Linked DNA regions of Homo sapiens: all the other regions are linked to region 2. The links are contacts of gene promoters, found by promoter capture Hi-C in blood cells and fetal thymus (Javierre and others, 2016). All regions are on one chromosome and are shown on one strand. Each heading gives the region's core, a stretch centred on a gene start or on the middle of the fragment in contact. The rest is flanking DNA. Distances are from core to core; before and after follow the strand shown.

Region 1 (3,316 bases), core at 654-3,153, 130 kb after region 2:
GCACCGAGGTAGACTGGGGTGGTCTTCAGGGCAGCAGGGGAGGGCCAGGTCTTACCCAGCCCATCCCCACCCCATTTCCCTGGGCCCGCCACCCAGCCCATCACTGCACCCTTTGGTCCTGTGGATCTCCCACCCCTCTCGTTTCTGCCTCCTGAAGCTGCCGCACCCCTCTGCTCAGTGATGCCCAGGGCACAGCTCGAGAGGTGCGAGCCAGGCACTCAGGGGCGAAGGGCTCACTCCGGCTGCTTCCTGCCCCTCCCACCTGGGGGTCCCCTTTGCAGTCCAGAAACCTAGGCCCGAGCCTTCCCTCAAGACCTGAGGCCATGGCAAGAGAAGGTCCCACATTGCCCTCTGGTTCTCTGCGTCCATCTGTCCGATTCTTTAAATTTCTCGGTCTTAGCAGCACCAACTTCCTGGCCAATAAATATCTTTTCTGTTATTTCCAAAACAAACTTAAAAAAAAAAAACGAAAAAAAAAAAAACAGTGAAGCAAGTGAAGGGTGGGGAACAAAAAGAAAACTCAACAGAGAGGTTCAAAGTGCTCTGAGATCGTCTTTGGATGCCACCAAAACAGTCCAGAATCTTGCAGTTGGCCTGGCCGCCCCCGGACTGGACCAGGCAGGGCTTCTGCGGACCAAGCTTTCTGGAAGATTGGGAAGGTCGTGAGAGAGCTTGGTGGTTCCTGGAGGGCCCCCGGAGGGAGCTGGGGCCTGGTGCTGCCTGGGTCTGTGTCTGCCAGTGGGCCGGGTGGGGCGGCGCCTCCAGTGGGCTCAGATGAGAGAGATTCGCACCGGGATGCCGGGGGACTCCGTCCTCTGGGGCGAGTGATGGCTCACCAGGTGCTCCACCACCGTGTGTTTGGACATGTGCTTCATCAGGTAGGTCTCCTGTGGGCAGGGATGAGATTCAGAACAGGGAACCACCAGCAAGGGAGGGAGAAGAGGCTGCAGTTCCCACCAGCAGCCACTGGAGGGCTCTTGGTAGGCGGTTCAGAGGGTGGAGGACAGCCACAGTTTTGCAGGGTCAGATGGGCGTCGGCCATTGGTTCTAGAGACACTGCACTGCTGCCAGTATGAGTGCTGGCTGGAGAGCTCACCCCTCAGCAATGCCCACCTGTGGCTCTCCAGGGCCAGGCCCCCAGGCCCTTGCCACCTGGATGTAGCTGGGTATACTGGCTGAACCTCAGCCCTGTCTGCCAGGTGAAGCACTGTGCCTGCATCTGGCTGGTGATCCCAGTGACAGTGAGGCAGCAGGACTGGGTCTGAGCCTAGCTCTGCTCTTTCTTAGTGGTGAGAACTTGGACAAGTCATCTTGTCTCTCTGAGCCTCAGTTTCCTCCTCTGTAAGCAGGCATAGGGGAGGAACAACCTCAACAGGTTGCTGTGGTGACAAAGATCAAGCCCTTAGCATGGAGTAAGGGTTGAAGGGTCCACTCCTGCCCCAGTCTCTACATTTCCTTTCCTTCCTTTTCTTAAGGTCTCACTGTGTCGCCCAGGCTGGAATGCTGTGGCACAATCACAGCTCACCACAGCCTCAACCTCCTGGGCTCAAGCAGTTCTCCCACCTCAGCCCTCCAAGTAGCTGGGACTACAGGTGGGTACTATCATGTCCTCCACTGGCTCTGCTGGATCTGACCTGAGGCACCAGGACTGGGTAGGTGAGGTTGTGACCCAGGGCTCACTGCAGGCCCAGAAGCCCTCACACTAAGCCACATCCTTCCAATCGCCTTTGCCAGAAGCAGAGGCGGTACTCCCACCTGCCACTCCTTGACTTCAGACCTCAATATGCTCAGAACCCAGCAGAGGAAGCCCTCAAATGTGGCGGCAACATGCTATCCAATACCAGAGGGAAGCAACCTGCAAATTCCTAGCTAGGAAACTATTCTTCAGTGAATAAATAACAAAGAAAAAAAGTGGGGGTAAGGGGACCTAGAGATTAAAAGATCTACTGAGCTACTACGATGCAGGAATCTTATTTGGATCTTGATCTAAAAAGAATAATGTAGGCTGGGCACGGTGGCTCATGCCTATAATCCCAGCACTTTGGGAGACTGAGGCGGGCGGATCACCTGCGGTCAGGAATTCGAGACCAGCCTGGCCAACATGGTGAAACCCCGTCTCTACTAAAGATACAAAAACATTAGGTGGCCATAGTGGCACATGCCTGTATTCCCAGCTACTCGGGAGGCTGAGGCAGGAGAATCGCTTGAACCTGGGAGGCGGATGTTGCAGTGAGCTGAGACTGTGCCACTGCACTCCACCTGGGTGACAGAGCAAGACTCCGTCTCAAAAAAAAAAAAAAAAAGAGGAATCATGTAAATACACCAAATCATGGCATTCGTGACACAAATGAAAATGTCAATGCTGAACGGGTATTTGAGTATCTGATGATGATAAGGACTTTGGTTAATTACTTTTTGATATTCCAAAGGTATTGTGGATATGCTCAAAAAAGGAGTCTTTATCAGAGAGATAAAGTGCAATTTTTAGAAATAGTATGATGTCTGGATTGTACTTCAAAAAATAGGAGTATGGATGAGGCAGGATTGGTTGATGGTGTAGGAGGTTATGGAAAACTTGAGCCTTGGAGAGAGGCAGGGACTGACTGGAGATCAGCTAGCCAAGCGAGGGCTCCTGCTCACCCCTTTGGAGCCCTTTTCCCTGCAGATTCTGTCCTCTTCGCCTCCTGACCCTCCTCTGCCCTTTGAACTCCAGGGAAGAATAAATGTTACAGACTCAGCACTTAGCAAGTGGCAGCCCTGCCCGGCACCTGACAAGTACTGCCAACAACCCCACCTATGATCCATGAACAGCCTCCAGCCAGAGTGACCTTGCAAAAATACCTTCCCTGCCAGGCACAGTGGTGCACACCTGTAGCCCCAGCTACTCTGGAGGTTGAAGCAGGAGGATCCCTTGAGCCCAGGATTTTGATTCCAGCCTGGGCAACATAGCAAGACCCCGTCTCTAAAATATACCAAAAAAAAAAAAAAAAAACCCTTCCTGACAGTCCCCTCCCTGTAGCTTCCCATTCCACCTGAAAAAATATCCAAACTTTTCTAACAGAGCCCCAAGGCCCCAACTGACCTAATTTCCTTTGAGTTCTTGTAACGTGCCAAGTTTGTTACCCCTCAGGGGGTTCGCACTCAGTGTTCGCCTGCATGGAAGCTTCTTTCCCCTCTTTCTCCTCCTCATCCAATTATCCTTCAAGGCTTCACCTAAGTGTTGCTCCTCCAGGTGGTCAATCTGGACTCATCCCCCTTCCCAGCTCCATTGTGTCCTCCCTGCTGTCTTTCAAAACACACTTTTATCACAGTGGTT
Region 2 (3,171 bases), core at 587-3,086:
AATCCCAGAGTTTTGGGAAGCCCAAGTAGGAAGATTGCTTGAGGCCAGAAGTTCGAGACAAACCTGGGCAACATAACAATTACCCGGGTGTTGGGGTGCATGCCTGTAGTCACAGCTACTCCTCGGGAGGCTGAGGCAGGAGGATCACTTGAACCCAGGAGTTCAATGTTATAGTGAGCTATGATCACACCACTGCACTCCAGCCTGGATGACAGAGCATAATTCTGTCTCTAAAAAATAAATAAATAAATAAAATTAGAGAATCACTGAGCTAAACAAGTCTGTACACAGATGTTTGTGTTTTTAAACTACTGTGCCTTTAGCTAAACTATCAAATCCCTAAGGTAAAAATGGAAAGACAGGCATAAGCCGGACGCGGTGGCTTATGCCTGTAATCCCAGCACTTTGGGAGGCCAAGGCGGGCAGATCACCTGAGGTCAGGAGTTCGAGACCAGCCTGGCCAACAAGGCGAAACCCTGTCTCTACTAAAAGTACAAAAATTAGCCGGGTGTGGTGGCAGATGCCTGTAATCCCAGCTACTCAGGAGGCTGAGTCAGGAGAATAGCTTGAATCCAGCAGGCAGAGGTTGCAGTGAGCCAAGATCGCACCATTGCACTCCAGTCTGGGTGACAAGAGCGAGATCGGACTCAAAAAAAACAAAAAACAAAAAACAGACAAACAAAAAAAAACAAAAAACAAAGGAAAGACAGAGAATTCTACAGTGCCCCTTACCTACCTGGTGACTCTATTCTCTTAATATATAGCCTCTGTGACCTTAACACATGTCACTTGTCACAAGGTATATTTGCTGTGGGATTAAGACGTAACACCATCATATCTTGAGAGGAGACAAAATTCTATTAGAGAAGGGATTCTAAGTCCAATCCTAAATTAAATAAATCTGATACAATGAGACTAGCTTTGGGGGCCAGATAAACCTGGATTTGAACCCTAAATCTGCTACTTACTAGCTGTATAACGTTGGGCAATTTGCTTAACTTCCCAAAGTCTCGGTTTCTTAATCCATAGAATGGTCACAGTAATTCCACCATGTTGAGAAGACTGAATTTAAAAGTTTCTAAAGTAATGAGCTTCAGTATAAATCAGTGTAACTCAGCATTAGCTCTTAATAGCTGTTTGACCTAAATTATGTCACATGGCCTCTCTGAGCCTCATTTTCTCTCCTTTGTAATACAGGCATAACTATTCTGCCTATTAATCTCAAAGGTCACTGTAAGGAAACAGTAAAACGCTGTACAAATTATGTACAAGGATTTTCTCAACTGCACAGCACACCTGAAATTGTGAGGAGGTGCTAGGAGACCCCTGCTGGATTTGAAAAAACTGGCGATTGTCCCGGGTCTGAAGTCAAAAATGATCTTAGATCTCCACTTTTGCCATTTAATGTTGTTGTATGATCTTGAGCGAATGATCTAACCTCTCTGAGCCTCCACTTTCCCTACTATCTAGTGGGGTTAATAGGACAGACATCACTTTCTGCAGCAAAGTGTTAAGGCACGTGGTAAGTGCTCAATAAATGTTGGCTGAATCTGGATCTCTCTGGCTGAGACAAATCTCTCCATCCGCAAGGTGGGAAAACTGCGCGTGGTCGCCATGTGGCGCTCAGGTAGAGGAGATGCTCCCGGGGGCACCGGGCTCCGGCACCTCCCCACTCCCCCGCCCACCCGCCCGTTGCCATGGCCACCGGTTCAGGCTGGGAGCAGCACTAAGGCGTGTTCCGCCCAATCCCCGCCCTTCTAGGGTGACCATTGGCTGGAGCGGCCACGTGACGCGCGCTGGTATGCTAATATATGGTAATAGCGCCCTCGCCCCTCCTCCGCGGGCAGCGTCCGAGCAGCCAGCAGGGTGCGCGGCGCCGAGCCGAGGGGGCGGGCTGAGGGGCGGCCCCCGGGAGAGAGCGGCCAGGTGGAGGAGGAGCGCGGAGGCGACCGCAGGTAACGGGCGGGCGCGTGCGCGCTGGGGCCAGCTCGCGGCTGACGGGCAGCGCGCGGGGGACACCGGCCGCCGCGCTGCCGGCTTAACCCTTTGGGCACCCAGCTGTCACGGTCGGGCCGGAGCGCTCGGCCGGGACGGGCCGCGCGGGGCGGGGCATTGCCATGGGCACGGACAGGCGGGCGGCAGGCGGCCTGACCCCTGGTCCGCGGCGTGGGGCCCGCGCTGGGAGCCCGCAGTCCCGGCCGGCGACCGGCAGAGCGCGGCGCCCCCGGGCCGGGAACGCGCAGCGAGGAGGGCTGCGGAGAGCCTGGGGCCGAGGCTTGCCGGGAACGGGAACCGGAACGGGAACGGGCCAAGGTCCCGTCAGTGACTCGCTTTCTCCGGGGACCGACCCCCCTCCTGCGGAGAGGCCCGCGCCGCGGCAGCCCGTGGTCTTGCGCGGCCTGCGCCTGCTCCGCTTGTCCCGCAGAGTGCGGTGAGACCCGGGCGTCGGGCCTGACCGGGGCGCCCGCTCCCCAGCCGCGGCGTGACAGCGCAGCCGCTGGCACTTTCGGCCCAGAGTCAAGCGTGGCGTGGGGGGCACCAGCAGAGGGAACCGGGGGTTGCTGGAACTGGGAGGAGAGAACAGTCGTCTAAAGGAAAAGCGGGCCCCAAGGTTGGAGAAGGAGGGATGCCCTAGAAAGGCGCTGGTCCCTTGTTTTCTGTGCTGAGTGATGACCTGACACCCATGGGAAAAGGTCGCTGCTGGACACCTGGATCGGGTCTGTCATACACGGAGGAAGCGGCTGTTCTACGTGAGTGTCTAACAAATTTCTTATAAGGCGAGGTTTAAATTCATCTTCCCCCCTCCCCAGGTCTGCTACAGAAGTGTCTTCTTGTAATTATCCCCCTCCCCCAATTCACTAAGACTGGTGGCAGCTTTAGGCTCACAGTGTAATTTAGCTTTTGCGACAATAGAAATGGTAGGAGGAGAGATGCGCCACTGATACTAAGCTTGCCCTGGGAGTTTCTTGGAAGTGTGGGGTAAAAAATATTTCTATCACCAGTGGGGATGAAAAATCGGCTAATGCGCCCGTGATATCAATAGAGTTTCTTTTGTGAGTCTAAAGTCGTTCCTTCTAAATCAAGAGAAAATGCGGTTACAATTGAAAAGTACCAGAAACCAATTTGATTTTGCAAGTGAAGTGCAAATTCCACTTCCACGTTGCTCTTGAT
Region 3 (3,282 bases), core at 328-2,827, 220 kb after region 2:
TACCCCACCCTACCCCAAGCTTCCTTCTCAGCCTTTGGTGACCATCATTCTACTCTCTATCTTCATGAGTTCAATTGTTTTAATTTTTAGCTCCCACATATAAGTGAGAACATGAGAAATTTGTCTTTCTGTGCCTGGCTTATTTCACTTACATAATGTCTTCCAGTTCCATCCATGTTGTTGCAAATGACAGAATTTAATTATTTTTATGGATGAATAATATTCCACTGTGTACATGTACAACATTTTCTTTATTTATTCATCTATTTGGGGACACTTAGATTGATTCCAAATCTTGGCTATTGTGCACAGTGCTGCAATAAACATGGGAGCGCAGATATCTAATCAATACACTACTTTCCTTTATTTGGATGTATACCTACTAGTGGAATTGCTAGATCATATGGTAGTTCTATCTTTAGTTTTTTTGAGGAACCTTCAAACTACTCTCCATAGTGACTATACTAATTTACACTCCCAACAGTGTACGAGGGTTCCCCTTTCACCATATCCTCACCAGTATTTGTTATTGCCTGTCTTTTGAGTGAAAGCCATTTTAACTGGGGTGAGATGATATCTCATTGTAGTTTTCATTTGCATTTCTCTGATGATTAATAATGTTGAGCATTTTTTTCAAACACCTATCAATCATTTGTAGGTCTTCTTTGGAGAAATATCTATTTGGATCTTTTGCCCACTTTTTAATCCAATTACTTCATTTTTTCTGATCAAGTTGTCTGAGCTCCTTATATATTCTGGTTGTTAATCCCTTTCAGATGGGTAGTTTGCAAATATTGCCTTTCATTGTGTGAGTTGTCTCTTTACTTTGCTGATTGTTTCCTTTGCTGTGCAGAAGATTTTTAGCTGGATGTGATCTCATTTGTCCGTTTTTGCTTTGGTTGTCTGTGCCTTTGAGGTATTATTTGAGAAATCTTTGCCCAGACCAATGTCCTAGAGAGTTTTCCCAATGTTTCCTTTTAGTAGTTTCACAGTTGGGGTCTTAGATTTAAGTCTTTAATCCATTCTTACTTGATTATTGTATATGGCAAGAGATAGGGGTCTACTTTCATTCTTCTGCATATGGAGATCCTGTTTTCCTAGCTCCAAATATTGAAGAGACTTTCCTTTCCCCAGTGAATGTTCTTAGCACCTTTGTGAAAAATGAGTTCACTGTAGATGTCCCATAGGAATTTTTAGGGGTGTGCATTCAGCTATTCCTGTATGTTTTCCCATGGCTTCAGCTTCTATCTTATTTTGTGTCTTTCAATTTACATGCTTTTTATTTGCTTCTTTTTTCTTATTTCACATTTTTAATTGGATTGATTTCTTTTTAATTCTATTCTTTTTTTCCCTGAACTAGCATGAAGTTAAGTATACATCATGCACTCTTAAAATCTAGAACTCAGTAAAATCCCTAGACTTTTCCAAACCAATACAAAATCAGGTGTTTTCGTTCAATCTTGTTTTTTGTTGTTGTTGTTGTTTTGTTTTTTTTGTTTTGTTTTGTTTTGGTTTGCTTTGGTTTTTTTGAGACAGAGTTTCTGTCTGTTGCCAGGCTGGAGTGCAGTGGCGTGATCTCAGTTCACTGCAACCTTTGCCTCCCGGGTTCAAGCGATTCTCCTGCCTCAGCCTCCCAAGTAGCTGGGACTACAGGCACATGCCACCACGCCCAGTTAATTTTTATATTTTTAGTAGAGATGGGGTTTCACCATGTTGGCCAGGATGGTCTCGATCTCTTGACATCGTGATCCACCCGCCTCGGCCTCCCAAAGTGCTTGGATTACAGGCGTGAGCCAACACGCCTGGCCTCAATCTTGTTTTAAAACCCCCAAAATAGTAATTATTATTATTATTACTATAGTAATCAATACTTATTTAAATTCACCAACACATTTACCAGCTTCTTTGTTCACTTTACTGCTTCCCACCCTTCTTCTGGGATTTTTTCTAACTGATTTATTGAAATACAATTGACAAACAATAAACTGCCCATACTTAAAGTGAACAATTTTGAGAGGTTGTTATGTATATATGTATGCATCTGTGAAATCATCGCCGTGATTAAGAAAATGAACTTCAGGCTGGGCGTAGTGGCTCATGCCTGTAATCTCAGCACTTTAGGAGGCTGAGGTGGGTGGGTCACCTGAGGTCAGGAGCCAAGATCGCACCACTGCACTCCAGCCTGGGCAACAGAGTGAGACTCCATCTAAAACAAAACAAAACAAAATTCTAAAAATTTATATGAATAGTATAATACATACATACTCTTTTTGTCCATCTTCTTTCACTCAGCACAATTATTTTGAGATTCAGCCATGCTATTGCACATATAAAATTTATCCTTTTTATTGCCAAGGAGCATTTCCATTGTATGGATGTGCCACATTTAGTTTATTCATTCATCCATGGATTTGGGACATTAGGGTTACTTCTAAATAAATTGTGACTATTATAAATAAGGCAGCAATAAACATTTGTGTACAAATCTTTGCATGCACGTACGCTTTCATTTCTCATATAGTTCGGCTGTCTTCTCCAAATCTCATGTTAAAATGTAATTCCCAGTGTTGGAGGTGAGGCCTGAAGGTCAGAGATGTTTGGATCATGGGGGAGTATCCCTCATGAATGGCTTAGTGCCATTCCCTTGGTGATGAATGAGTTCACACAAGATCTGGTTGTTTAAAAGTGTGTGGCACCTCCCCACTGCACCCCACCACCTCTCTGTCTTACTCCTGCTCTTGCCATGTGATAGGCCAGCTTCCCCTTTGTCTTCTGCCATGATTGTAAGTTTCCTGAGGCCTCACCAGAAGCCAAGCAGATGCCTAGCGCCATGCTTCCTGTACAGCCTGCAGTACTGTGACTCAATTAAACCACTTTTCTTTATAAACTATCCAGTCTTGGGTACTTCTTTACAGCAACACACCAATAGCCTAATATAGGTACCTAGAAGTGGAATGGCTCAATATACGTTAGAGATACCTAGGTAAATTATTGAGAAACTGCCAAACTGTTTTCCAAAATGGCTATCATACTAGTCATTCTCACACTGCTATGAAGAAATACCTGGGACTGGATAATTTATAAAGAAAAGAGGTTTAAGTGGCTCACAGTACTGCAAGCTGTATAGGAAGCTTGGCTGCATCTGCTTCTGGGGAGGCCTCAGGGAGCTTTGACTCATAGTGGAAGGTGAAGGGGAAGCAGGCATGTCTTACATGGTTGAAGCAGGAGGAACAGAGAGAAGGCGGCGGTGCTACACACTTTTTAACAACCAGATCTCATGAG

The links. The method cuts DNA at HindIII sites, captures the fragments that hold promoters and counts their contacts. A CHiCAGO score of 5 or more calls a contact.
Region 1: a fragment that was not itself captured here is called in contact with the fragment with the promoter of PHC2 in region 2 in 11 of 17 cell types (naive B cells, M0 macrophages, monocytes and 8 more); the score reaches 9.6 in naive B cells.
Region 3: a contact is called between a fragment that was not itself captured here and the fragment with the promoter of PHC2 in region 2, in 1 of 17 cell types (megakaryocytes). The highest score is 6.9, in megakaryocytes.

The regions. Positions count from the first base shown.
Region 1 is chr1:33,296,501-33,299,816 of GRCh38, reverse strand. It overlaps ZNF362 (zinc finger protein 362), which reads right to left. Exons shown (of 9, transcript NM_152493.3): 9 at 1-887. The coding sequence ends at 771. Among named protein-coding and RNA genes, the nearest start is that of A3GALT2, 23 kb to the left of the region's middle. RefSeq lists an enhancer at 1-434 and a silencer at 866-1,046. The HindIII fragment of the contact is 2,524 bases long and covers 642-3,165 here.
Region 2 is chr1:33,429,760-33,432,930 of GRCh38, reverse strand. PHC2 (polyhomeotic homolog 2) reads left to right here and starts at 1,836. Exons shown (of 15, transcript NM_001385109.1): 1 at 1,836-1,955. RefSeq lists a silencer at 1,633-2,152. The HindIII fragment of the contact is 9,079 bases long and covers 1-2,951 here.
Region 3 is chr1:33,212,091-33,215,372 of GRCh38, reverse strand. It overlaps a transcript of ZNF362 not described here. Among named protein-coding and RNA genes, the nearest start is that of TRIM62, 32 kb to the right of the region's middle. RefSeq lists a silencer at 3,233-3,282. The HindIII fragment of the contact is 3,112 bases long and covers 22-3,133 here.